2 separate regions of the Homo sapiens genome follow, and region 2 is linked to region 1. The links are contacts of gene promoters, found by promoter capture Hi-C in blood cells and fetal thymus (Javierre and others, 2016). All regions are on one chromosome and are shown on one strand. Each heading gives the region's core, a stretch centred on a gene start or on the middle of the fragment in contact. The rest is flanking DNA. Distances are from core to core; before and after follow the strand shown.

The links. The method cuts DNA at HindIII sites, captures the fragments that hold promoters and counts their contacts. A CHiCAGO score of 5 or more calls a contact.
Region 2: a fragment that was not itself captured here is called in contact with the fragment with the promoter of CDO1 in region 1 in 4 of 17 cell types (total CD8 T cells, naive CD8 T cells, non-activated CD4 T cells and 1 more); the score reaches 5.8 in total CD8 T cells.

What each region holds. Positions count from the first base shown.
Region 1 is chr5:115,814,634-115,819,794 of GRCh38, forward strand. It overlaps CDO1 (cysteine dioxygenase type 1), which reads right to left and starts at 2,026. Exons shown (of 5, transcript NM_001801.3): 1 at 1,595-2,026. The coding sequence starts at 1,764. It overlaps LOC124901049 (a long non-coding RNA gene), which reads left to right and starts at 2,455. Exons shown (of 2, transcript XR_007058908.1): 1 at 2,455-2,538. The HindIII fragment of the contact is 6,274 bases long and covers 3-5,161 here.
Region 2 is chr5:115,604,888-115,610,320 of GRCh38, forward strand. All of the region lies in intron 3 of TMED7-TICAM2 (TMED7-TICAM2 readthrough), which reads right to left. All of the region lies in intron 2 of TICAM2-AS1 (TICAM2 antisense RNA 1), which reads left to right. Among named protein-coding and RNA genes, the nearest start is that of TICAM2, 5.1 kb to the left of the region's middle. The HindIII fragment of the contact is 1,583 bases long and covers 900-2,482 here.

The DNA.
Region 1 (5,161 bases), core at 776-3,275:
AAAGCTTTAGAGTTTGTCAATCGAGACTAGTTCAAGGTCCTTGAAAATACACTTGTTCTAAAGATTAAAGATTAAAAACTGTTACAACCTGTCCTGGTTTAACAGTGGTTTAGAGTGTAGGCTCTGGAACAACAATGCTAACCCCGGGAGCCTGGAGCCGCTATCGATAGAAGACCTAGTGCAAGTCATTCAACTTCTTCATTGCCTGCCATTCCTCATATGTGTCAAGTGTCTGGAAGAGTACCTGTCCCATAACAAGTCTTCAATTACCTGGAGCAAATGCAAGAAAATTTAAAAGCTAGACTCTCTGCTAGCTTTCACGGCTACAGAAGGGCTCTACCATGAACTAAGCTGATAGGAGCCAAAGGAATTTCCTCAAGTCACTTGTATATGAAAAATGGGATCCTTAGTGGTCTTCACTTTTTCTATTTCAAATCCTAAAATACAGTTGAAACCGCCCATGCCAACAAAACTTTACGAAACATCCCACATGTTGAAGAGTGACTAAAAGAACCTGCTCCCAAGAAAAACAAACTTACTTCTTTCCTTATTCTTTTCTTTCACTTACCCCTTTCTCCTAACCCTAAACCCAAAAAACCACAAAGACTGACGCACTAACTGCTCAGAAAAAGTAGAACCTCTCACACTTCGGGGTGATTAAATTTTACCTCTGGCCCCGGAGGATTGGTAGAGAGATTCGACTTAATCACCAAGCCGGGGCTGCAAAAAAGCCAGCTTACCAGGGCACCTCACTCAAGTACATCTGGGAAGTAGGGGTCTTTAATTTACATTACAGATCGTCAGAAGCAAGGATAAGATAAATCAGATCATTTGGGGGCTGAAAAAAACGACGGTCGAATATTTAATCTGCGAAACTTGGCAGTGGATTTGAATAAACCCACAGTCGGGGAAGTTAGTTAAATTGGTTTGGGAAAGGGAACAGCAGAAATTCCGTAGTGGCAGCTGACGGCCACAAGACGCTATTTTACATGAGTAAAAATGCTTGCTATAAGGTGCCCGGTTGCAGGCGACCGAAGGCGCAGTGATGGAGAACTGACGCGGGTGACTTGTCTTCTTCAACATCACACACTTCTCCCGATGGCTGATGTAGTGCTCCCCTGGGAGCACCCTCTGCTAGTCCGGCCAGACGGTTCCTTAAGGTGTCAGGAGGGCCCGAACCTGAGTGCGGTCTCTCCGCATCTCCGCGCCCGGGGTTAACGATGGCTTGGGAGTGTGGGCATTGCTCCCGAGGCCAGGGGCAGGAGGACTGGTGGTTTAGAAGCAGAGGGGTTTGCGGGAGAGAAGAGAACAGAAAATCTCGCAGACGCGCGGTGGCCTCCCTTCCCGGCGCCTGTCCGCCGTTCCCGGCCGGAGGTCAGCAAGGCCAGTAGGATCCACCTTCCGCCTGCGCTGTGGCCGCGGAGCCCCAAGCGAGTCGTGCCAGCCCCGCGGCTGGCCAGCGAGGGGGCGAGCGGCGGACGCAGCGCGGCCCGAGCTTCCCGAGCCAGTCACTTTGGGCTGCGTCCCCCACGTCCATTCCTCCTCAGACGGGGCGAGTGGGCGCCGCCTGGCATTGAAGCTGCAGCGCGCTCACCTGTACTGGTCGAACTTGGCGTACATTGCCCACTCGGTGGGGTCGCTCTCGTAGGCTTCCATGATGGCCTGCACCTCCTCTACATTGACCTCATCGCCGGCAAAGAGCTGGTGCAGGATGCGGATCAGATCAGCCAGGGTCCGTGGCTTCAGCACTTCGGTCTGTTCCATCTCGTGGGGAGCTGGCTGCGCGCGCGTCTCACTGCTGGGCTGCGGTGGAGGAGCTGAGCGAGCCAAGGAGCTGGGGGCGAGGGAGCCTAACAGCCCGCTAGACCGCTAAGCAGACACACACGCACAAACCCAGCATTAGAGTGCCGAAACGTAAGGATGTCGTCGCAGAGACAGCAAGAGACCCACCCCCAGGCCCCTGGCAGCGCAGTGGATCCGGGATCGCTGGAGACGCGGTGCACACACAAATCAGGTTCAGATCTGTGGGGTTCATCCTCCCGGGCCCCTTTTAAGCGCTTGGAGTCACTAGGAATGTACCAACGGCCCTCGGAGGGAGGACGAGGCGGAGAGCCACCCAAGAAAGGTGGCGGAGGCGGGGAGACCCTGCGGGCACGGCTCACGCGCACATCCCCGGCTTCCCCGGGCTCCGCGCCTTCCCAAGAGCCCCGTTGTCTCCGGCGTCCCAGGGATCGCGTGGGCTCCGCGCAATCTCTCCCCCACTTTAACGGCGCGTTTTAGCCGCCCGGCCTAACGCCTCTCCCCGCTCCACCTCCGCCGCTGTGGTTCGCGACGCTGGGACGTAGACAAAAAGGGTCGGAGGAGATGGCTGCGGGGACTGACGCTGAGTAAAGGAGGAAAAGAAAAGGGAAGGAGAGGGACACTTCTTCCAAATAGAGAATTGTGAGGAGCCTGCGAAAATTGAGGATGGATTCCACTCCTAGGCCAGAGAGTGCCTGTTTTGTCGATTGAAACTATCCACGATATGCCCCAGGCTAGGTGAAAATAAGTCCAAGACTTTATATATATATATATTTAAGTATACACACACACATATTTTTTAAAATGCGTACTGAAATATATTTTGACAAAGGAGACTCGGGTCTCTAGTAAGACAATTAGTGAAATGATGGAAAACCAAGAACTCTTTGATTTTAAAATCAAATATTTTCTTTTAAAAAATATCCAGTGCAAATAACCTGATATTTCATTTGATGGTGTAAAAGGGGGCTTTTTCTGAGGGGATAGGGCGGGCTCTGACGCAATAATTTAAGAGGCTATAATTATATTTGAATCTTTCAACCTTAGGCATGTGCTTGAAGGAGCCTGCTAGTACATACATATAAGGAAACACGTTTCTACGTCATGCATAGCACCTAGTACGTTGGGAACAACACAAATCAAGTACAGTAGGATTTAAATGAGAAAGATGTGAAAGGTGGAAGAAATGCAAGTGTAGATTTCTTCCTTCTCATTATGGATGGACGCAGGGAATAATTTGGATTTAAGGTTATTAAAGTTCTAGACTTCTGAAGACCTGTTTTTTTCTAGACTATGATCACCCTCCCTCGTGTATATACATGTATACAATGAAATTTACTTGTGCCAGGTAGTCTTAAACATCTCTGGTAAAACTCGCTACATTATATTCTAACAGTGTTGTTAAAAGCGGAATCACCTATTGTTCAAAAATGGCTACAAGTAGAAAGCATTCCAGAAGCCAGCCTTGGTGATGTGTGTTGCTGCGGGGTAGTGAATTAACAAAGTATTTTGTGACAGAGTAACCTGTAAACTTTTCATGGTTTCCTCAAATTATTTTTTATTCTTGGCAATGTTTTCTATTGAGTCTCTTAATTACTTCATTTCAGCTAGTCTAATCCATAAATGTTTGGAATGAACAACAAAAATGAAATGCAAGCACAATTTATCTTTTCTGCATTTCAGTTGATAAAACTTCTAAATTTTTCTGACAATTCATTTTCTTTCTCTGACTCCTCTTTTTCTTTTTACATTTTTATGAAAGTAATATATTCACGTAGTTAAAAAAAATCAATAGTACTGGAAGGTCAATGAAAAGCAGCAGGCCCTTTTAACCATTCCTGACCATCTGTCCTGTGCTTAAAGAGTCAGTCTCTTAACTCTTCTAACTATTCCTTGTGGTAGTTACTTCCTTTTTCCAAAAATAGGCTTATATTTTTTTTTGTTTCAGCAATTTTAGATATTATCTAGTCATTTTACATTATGATAGCTCCATTCGTTTATTATTCATTCATTAATTTATTCAACAAATGTTTTTTCGGGTGAATAGAAATTTTCATTTCACCTGAGTAAATACCTAGGAGTGAGATTGCTGGGCCATTTAGTCAGTGCATGTTTAAATTTGCAAGAAATTGACATACTAATTTGCAAAGGGTCTGTGCCATTTCACATTCTCAACAGTGATGTATGAGTTCTAGTTGCCCCGCATCCTCGCCAGGTATTGTCAGTTTTACCAATTTTGGCCAAATAGAGGTGTGCTGATATTGCATTGTGTTCTTCATTTTCTATATCTCTAATTCTTATGGGCAGGTCTTTGTTCTTAGAGCTCCCAAGATGGTGGCCACCGCTCCCAGGATGGCAGCAAGCCTTTTGTTCTCTGAACTGGGGTTCTTGGCCTCATGGATTCCAAGGAATGGAACCTTGGACCATGCGGTGAGTGTTATAGCTCTATTAGAAGCCGTGGGTCACAGAAGAGAACCGTGGAACCCAGCTACTAGTGTTCAGCTCAAATAGGACGAACCCGGGCACTTAGCCATGCAGGAACAATGGCAAGCCTTTAGCCGGATCGGGAGTGGCAATGGGTGCCTCGCTGGATCAGCAAAGCAGCGGACACCCTGCCGGATCTGGAGGGGTGGAAGTCGGTGGCGGGTCTGTGACAGTGGCAAACAGCAGTGGTGAAAAGCGAGCGAAAGCTCAGCTCGAGCCATAACAAACACAGACCAGAAGAGTGTGCAGTTGCTAGATTTAATAGAGTGAAAACACAGCTCCCATACAATGCGACGGCACGCAAAGAGGGTTGCCACTCCCTGCTTTAATGCCTGGGTTTATATCCGGATCATTGTCCCTCCCCCATGCTCTCAGGCGATATATTATTTGACTATTTCTTTACCTCCTGCTTTAGCCTAATTTGTATTTTAGTGAGCCCTCTTTACTGCCTGATTGGTTGGGTGTGAGCTGAGTTACAAGCCCCGTGTTTAAAAGTAGTTGCAGTCACCTTTCCCAGCTAGGGCTTAGGAATTCTTAGTCGGCCTAGGAAATCCAGCTTGTCCTGTCTCTCATAATGACTAATGATGTTGAGCATATTTTTATGTGATTAGTTATTTGTAAATAATTTTTGGTGAAATATCCAAGTATTTTGTCCTTTTAAAAACTTAATTATCTGTTCTTATTGTTGAGTTTTAAGAGTTTATTATATATTCTAGAAACAAGTCAGATGTGTGATTTGTATATATTTCCTCCCAGTCTGTGACTGGTCTTTTGTTTGTTTTTTTGGACAAAGGTCTTGCTGTGTCACTGAGGCTGGAGTGCAGTGGAGCCATTGGCTCACTGCAGCTTTCAACACCTGAGCTCAGGCAAGCCTACT
Region 2 (5,433 bases), core at 441-2,940, 210 kb before region 1:
TAGGTAGCACTTTGTCTTCACAAAGATAATTCACATTCAAGGTATAAATCTGCATTCTCTGCCTGCAGTGTTTCCACTGGCACTAATATTCTTGACATTTCTGAAGGTTTTATCCATTGCATAGGAATCCCAAAAACATTTCTTCCAACCAGGTACACAGTTTATGGCAATGGAAGTGAATTCAATGGTTTTAACACATGCTTATCTCCTAAAGTAACTAGCTTGATAGAACAGCTGAGTGGCAAAATGAGAGCTCGGTTACAGAGATATCTGGGAGGCAACATCATGAAAAGGTAGGGTGGTGTCCTATAGAATGTGGTACATTAATTTAATAAGCAGTCAATATATGGAGCTGTCTCCCCACTATCAGGATGCACAGGTCTCAGAGCCAAAGGGTAGAAGGAGTGTTTCTGTTCAATAGTATACCTAAGAATCTACGTGAATAATTTTTGCTTCCCATTCCCAAAATGTTGGGCTTGGTGGGTTTAGAAATTCTAGAGTCCAAGAGTAGAACACTTCCTTCAGGAAAAATAATCATGTTTTGATGATTTAGGAGCCGAGACTGGCCCTGGCCTTTTGAGGTTCCTCATGCCATTAAAGTAACAGAAAAGCAGCTCAATGGACTGGCCAGGGTAGCTAATTCCAGTTATCAGAGGAAAACTGTGTTTCTGTTTTACAATGGAAACAAGAAGGCTATATAGGCTATATATGGAAACGAGGAAATTCACTGGAATGCCTCTTAGTGCTAACAGTCCTAGTCAGTGGAAAACTGCAGCAACCCAGTAAAGACAGGCCTATCAACGGCTCAATTCTGTAGAAATGAAGGTTTAGGTCACTTCATTAGACAAAGAATCCCATCTAGTCAAAATCCTGGAGGAAGGTAAGAAGAAGGATTACTAAGCTTGATTATGGTACTTTATTCCCCCAGAAATAAAACCAAAAGATGGTTTACTAGGACGTTCAAAATCAATAAACTTCTAGCCAGATAAGTCAAGAAAAAAGAGAGCAGATGCAAATTACCAATATTAGAAATGAGAGAGGGACATGACATTCCAGTTATTAAAAGGTTACTAAGGAAAGATTATGAACAACTTTATGCCAGCAAATTCAACAATTTATATGAAATGGAAAAAATCCTTAAAAGCCAAACAGTCAAGATGAAACAGATTATTTTAAAAGCCCTAAATCTATCAAAGAAATTAAGGTGTAGTGAAAAATGTTCCGAAAAAGAAAACTTCATGTCCAGGTGACTTCAATGGTGAACTCTACCAAAACATTTAAGGAAGAAATGATACCAATCCTACACATACTCTTCAAAAAAATTCAAAAGGAGGGAATACTTCTGAAATCATTCTATTAAGCCAGCATTAGTATCATACTAATCAGACAAAAGACATTACAAAAACAGAAAACTAAAGACCAACATCGCTCATGGATATAGATGTAAGATTCTAAACAAAATTTGAACAAATCAATGATGGTTGAGAATTTTCCAGAACTGATGTATCAACCCACAGATCTAAGATGCCAAACAAAGCCTAAGTGGGAAAATACAATAAAATCCTCACGTATATACAACACAATGAAACTCAAAAAAAAAAAATTATAATTACAAAGAGAAAATCGTGAAAGCAGCCAGAGGAAAAAAAAATGGATTAGTCTAAATGGAGCAAAAGACTGACAGGTGACTTCTTCCCAGTAACAGTGGAAGTCAGAATACAAGGGAAAGTTATCTTTACCTTTCCAGATAACCATCCATTTCAAGGGAGAAAAAAAAAGTCCTTCAAAAAGAAGGCAAAATAACGACATTTCAAAAAACAAGAGCAAAGTAAATGTGCCACCAGGTGACCTGCACTAAAGTAAATTCTAAACATATACTCAGGCAAAAGAAAAATTACTCCAGATGGAAGCTCAAAGACACAGCAAGGAATGGAGAGTAAGAAAGGTGGCAAATTTGTGGGTAAATCTAAGTCAATATTAACTATATAAAACAACAGTAATAACTTACATTTAAAGAGATACAACATATGTGACAACCACATATATAAGCTGGGAGGAAAGTAAATGGGATTAAAGTGTTCTAAGGCTACTGCACTGCGCAGAAGTCTGGGCGAGTTTAGGCGTTGATAAGTCAGAGATGCATAATGAAATTTCTAGAACAACCATGAACAGAAATATATACAACATCCCATCTGATAGGTAGAAGAAAAAAAGGAGTAACAAAAACAAAACTATCAAAAAAAAAGTAGAAAAAAAGGAACATAGAACAGATAGGACACATACTAATAGTAACAACAATATGATATAAACGAGACACCTCTAAAAACTAAATATACACAAAGACTGAAAGTAAAACTGTGGAAAATGATATACGACACAAGTGCTAGCCAAACGAAAGCTGGTATAGCTACATTAATATCAAATAAAATTAATTTTAAGGCAAAATTTATTAGTGGAAATAAAGATAATTTTGTAATGATAAAGCTTCTTTCAATTAACCTGGAAAATATAACAATTATACATTTGTATCCCAATACAAAATAGAAAAAGAGAGAAATTGAAAGAATCACACAAACACATCTAAAATCATGCTAGCTACATTTTAACACAATTCTCTTAGTAATCAAGAGATATATACCAAAAACAAAAAAATCATCACTAAGGATACTGAAGACTTGAAAATTAATGAACATGACTAAAATGATTAATGAACATAAATAACTGTAGAACTCTTTTCAAGCATCCTAAAATTTATAAAAACCAGCCACTTATTATGTCATAAAGCAACTGTTAACACATTTCAAAGAATTTAAATCATATAGAGAATATATCATCTGATCACAATTCAATTATGTTAAAAATCAACAATAAAGGAAAACTTAAATATTCATGTTTGGAAATTATAGTTCCAAATAGTATCTATGGATCAAAGTAGTAATGATAATGAAATAAAAAACTTTGCAGTTAGTGAATAACTAAAATGCTAGATATTGAGACTTGTAGAATGGAGTTAGTAGTAGGCAGAATTCTAAGATGGTTCCTGAAATCCTTTCCAAGCCCCATATCCATACCTTTGTGTGGACAACGCCTGTTACATTTAGTAAGAGAATATGGCAAAAGTGAAAGGATTTTGCAGATGCAATTAAGGTGCCTATTTAGTTGACTCTGACTTAATCAAAAGGGAGACTATCCCAGGTGACTCTGACCTAACCAAGTGAACTCTTTCTGGCCTTCTCTGAAACAGATTCTAGTCAGAAGTTCTGCTGACCTTAAAAAGGCATGTCACGTTACACTGCTTATATAAAAGAGCAGCCCTAAGTAGCTGAGGACCTCAGTTCTACAGCTTCAAGGAACTAAGTTTTATCAACAATCTGATTAATTTAGAAGAGAACTGTGAGCTCCAGATGACAATGCAGTTCAGCTGACTTCACTGCAGCCTTGTGAGACCCTAAACAGAGGACCCAGTTAAGCCATGCTGAAACTCTTAACCCCAAGAAATTGTGAGATAATAAAATTATGCTGTTATAAACCAGTAAACCTGTGGTAATTTGTTACCCAGCATAGAAAACTAACGCAAGAGATAAAGTAGCATTATCATGGAAATCTATAGCTTTAAATATGTAAATCAGAATAGAAAGTTGAAAATTTGAAGAGCTAACCATCCACTACAATAATATGACATATTAACATAGAAAAGAAAAAGCTGAAATCAACAAAATAGAGAAAATATAACAAAGAAGAAAAACAAAAATATTGGCTTCTTTGTAAAGCAAAAACAATAAATATGATAAACCTCTAGCAAGACTAGTCAAGGAAAAAAGATACAAACAATCTCAGATGCAATATAAGCAATACAAAGGGTACCATCCTTACAGATCTGGCACATGTTAAGTGTACAGGAAAAACACAGTGCTAACAAATTTGAAAGTGTAGACGTAATGGAAAGATACATAGGAATATGCAATCTACCAATATTACACAACAGAAAAGCTGAACCTTATTAATAAAAAGAAATTGAATCAGCATCCCATAAAGAAGACACCAGGCCCCAAACACACTTCACCTATGATTTCTAATAAACATTCAAGGAAGAAGTAATGTAAATGTTATATACAAGCTCTCCCAGAAAACAAGAAAAGAAAGCCAGTTTCCAAATCACTTTATAAGGCTAAAACAGCCTTGATATTAAGCAAAAATCTTAAAACAAATCCAGCTATTAAAAGCAGTCAAACCACATCGTGGCCAGGTTTTTTTTACCCTAGGAAGAGAAGGTTGGCTTAATAATAGGAATCCAGTTCATGTAACTGACTACATTCAGAGAATAAAGGCAGAAAAATCATGATTTTTCTCAATAGAGCTTTTTGAAAATTCAAAATTTTATATCATTTATGATTATAAAAAACTCTTAGCAAATAAGAATAGGTGGGAAATTTCTAAATTTAATAAAAGTATCATAAAATGCTTAGAGAATACTTTGAAAGCATTCCCAGAGAACAGGAACAAAACAAGAATGCCTACACATGACCTATTCAACATTATACTGGAGGTCCCTGCAAATTTAATTAGGCAAGAAAAAGAAAAGGACAATAGAAAGACAAATTTGTCATTACTTATAGAAAGTCCAAAAGAATCTACAGATAAATTACTAAACTTTAAAAAAGATTTTTGCAAGGTTGAATAGAAAAATCAATTTAAAAAGTATCCCCACATACGAACAAAAAATTAAAAACTTAAAAGATATCATTTATGATAGCATCAAAAACAAAAAGATATAAGATTAACAAAATATATGTATGCAGTATTTCTATGAAGAAAATTTTAAGACTTTATTCAAAGATACAATGGAAAGACAACATTAACTCACCAAAAAATGCACTACTATAAAGAATTTGTTCACAGATACAATACAATCCCAATCAAAATCCTAACAATTTTGTTTTGTTGAAATTCTAAAATTTGTATAAAAGTGCAAAGAACTGATCACAGCCAAAATCTTGAAGAACAAGGTATAAAAAGACTTATTTTACCAAATATCAAGACTTTTAAAAGCTTTAGTAGTTAAGACAGTGTGTTACTGATATATGGGCAAATTGATCAATGGAATAAAAGAGAGCCCAGAAATAGACTCATGTAAATATGAGCATTTCACAGATGACAGAAATGGCATGTTCAACCAAATGAGAAAGATGACTTTTCAAGAAACAAGGGAAAAAAAAAGAACCTGGATACCTACCTCACCCACAAAACAAAATTCAATTTGAGTGGAAGACAAAACTACACATATTTTAGAACACAGTACAGAAGATATTCATGACCTAAGGAGAGGGAAGTATTTTTTAAATAAGACACAAAAACACCAAAAAATAGAGAAAAAGATGGATACATTTCACTAGGAGCAGAACGATAAATAACTGTGAGAAGATATTTGAAATA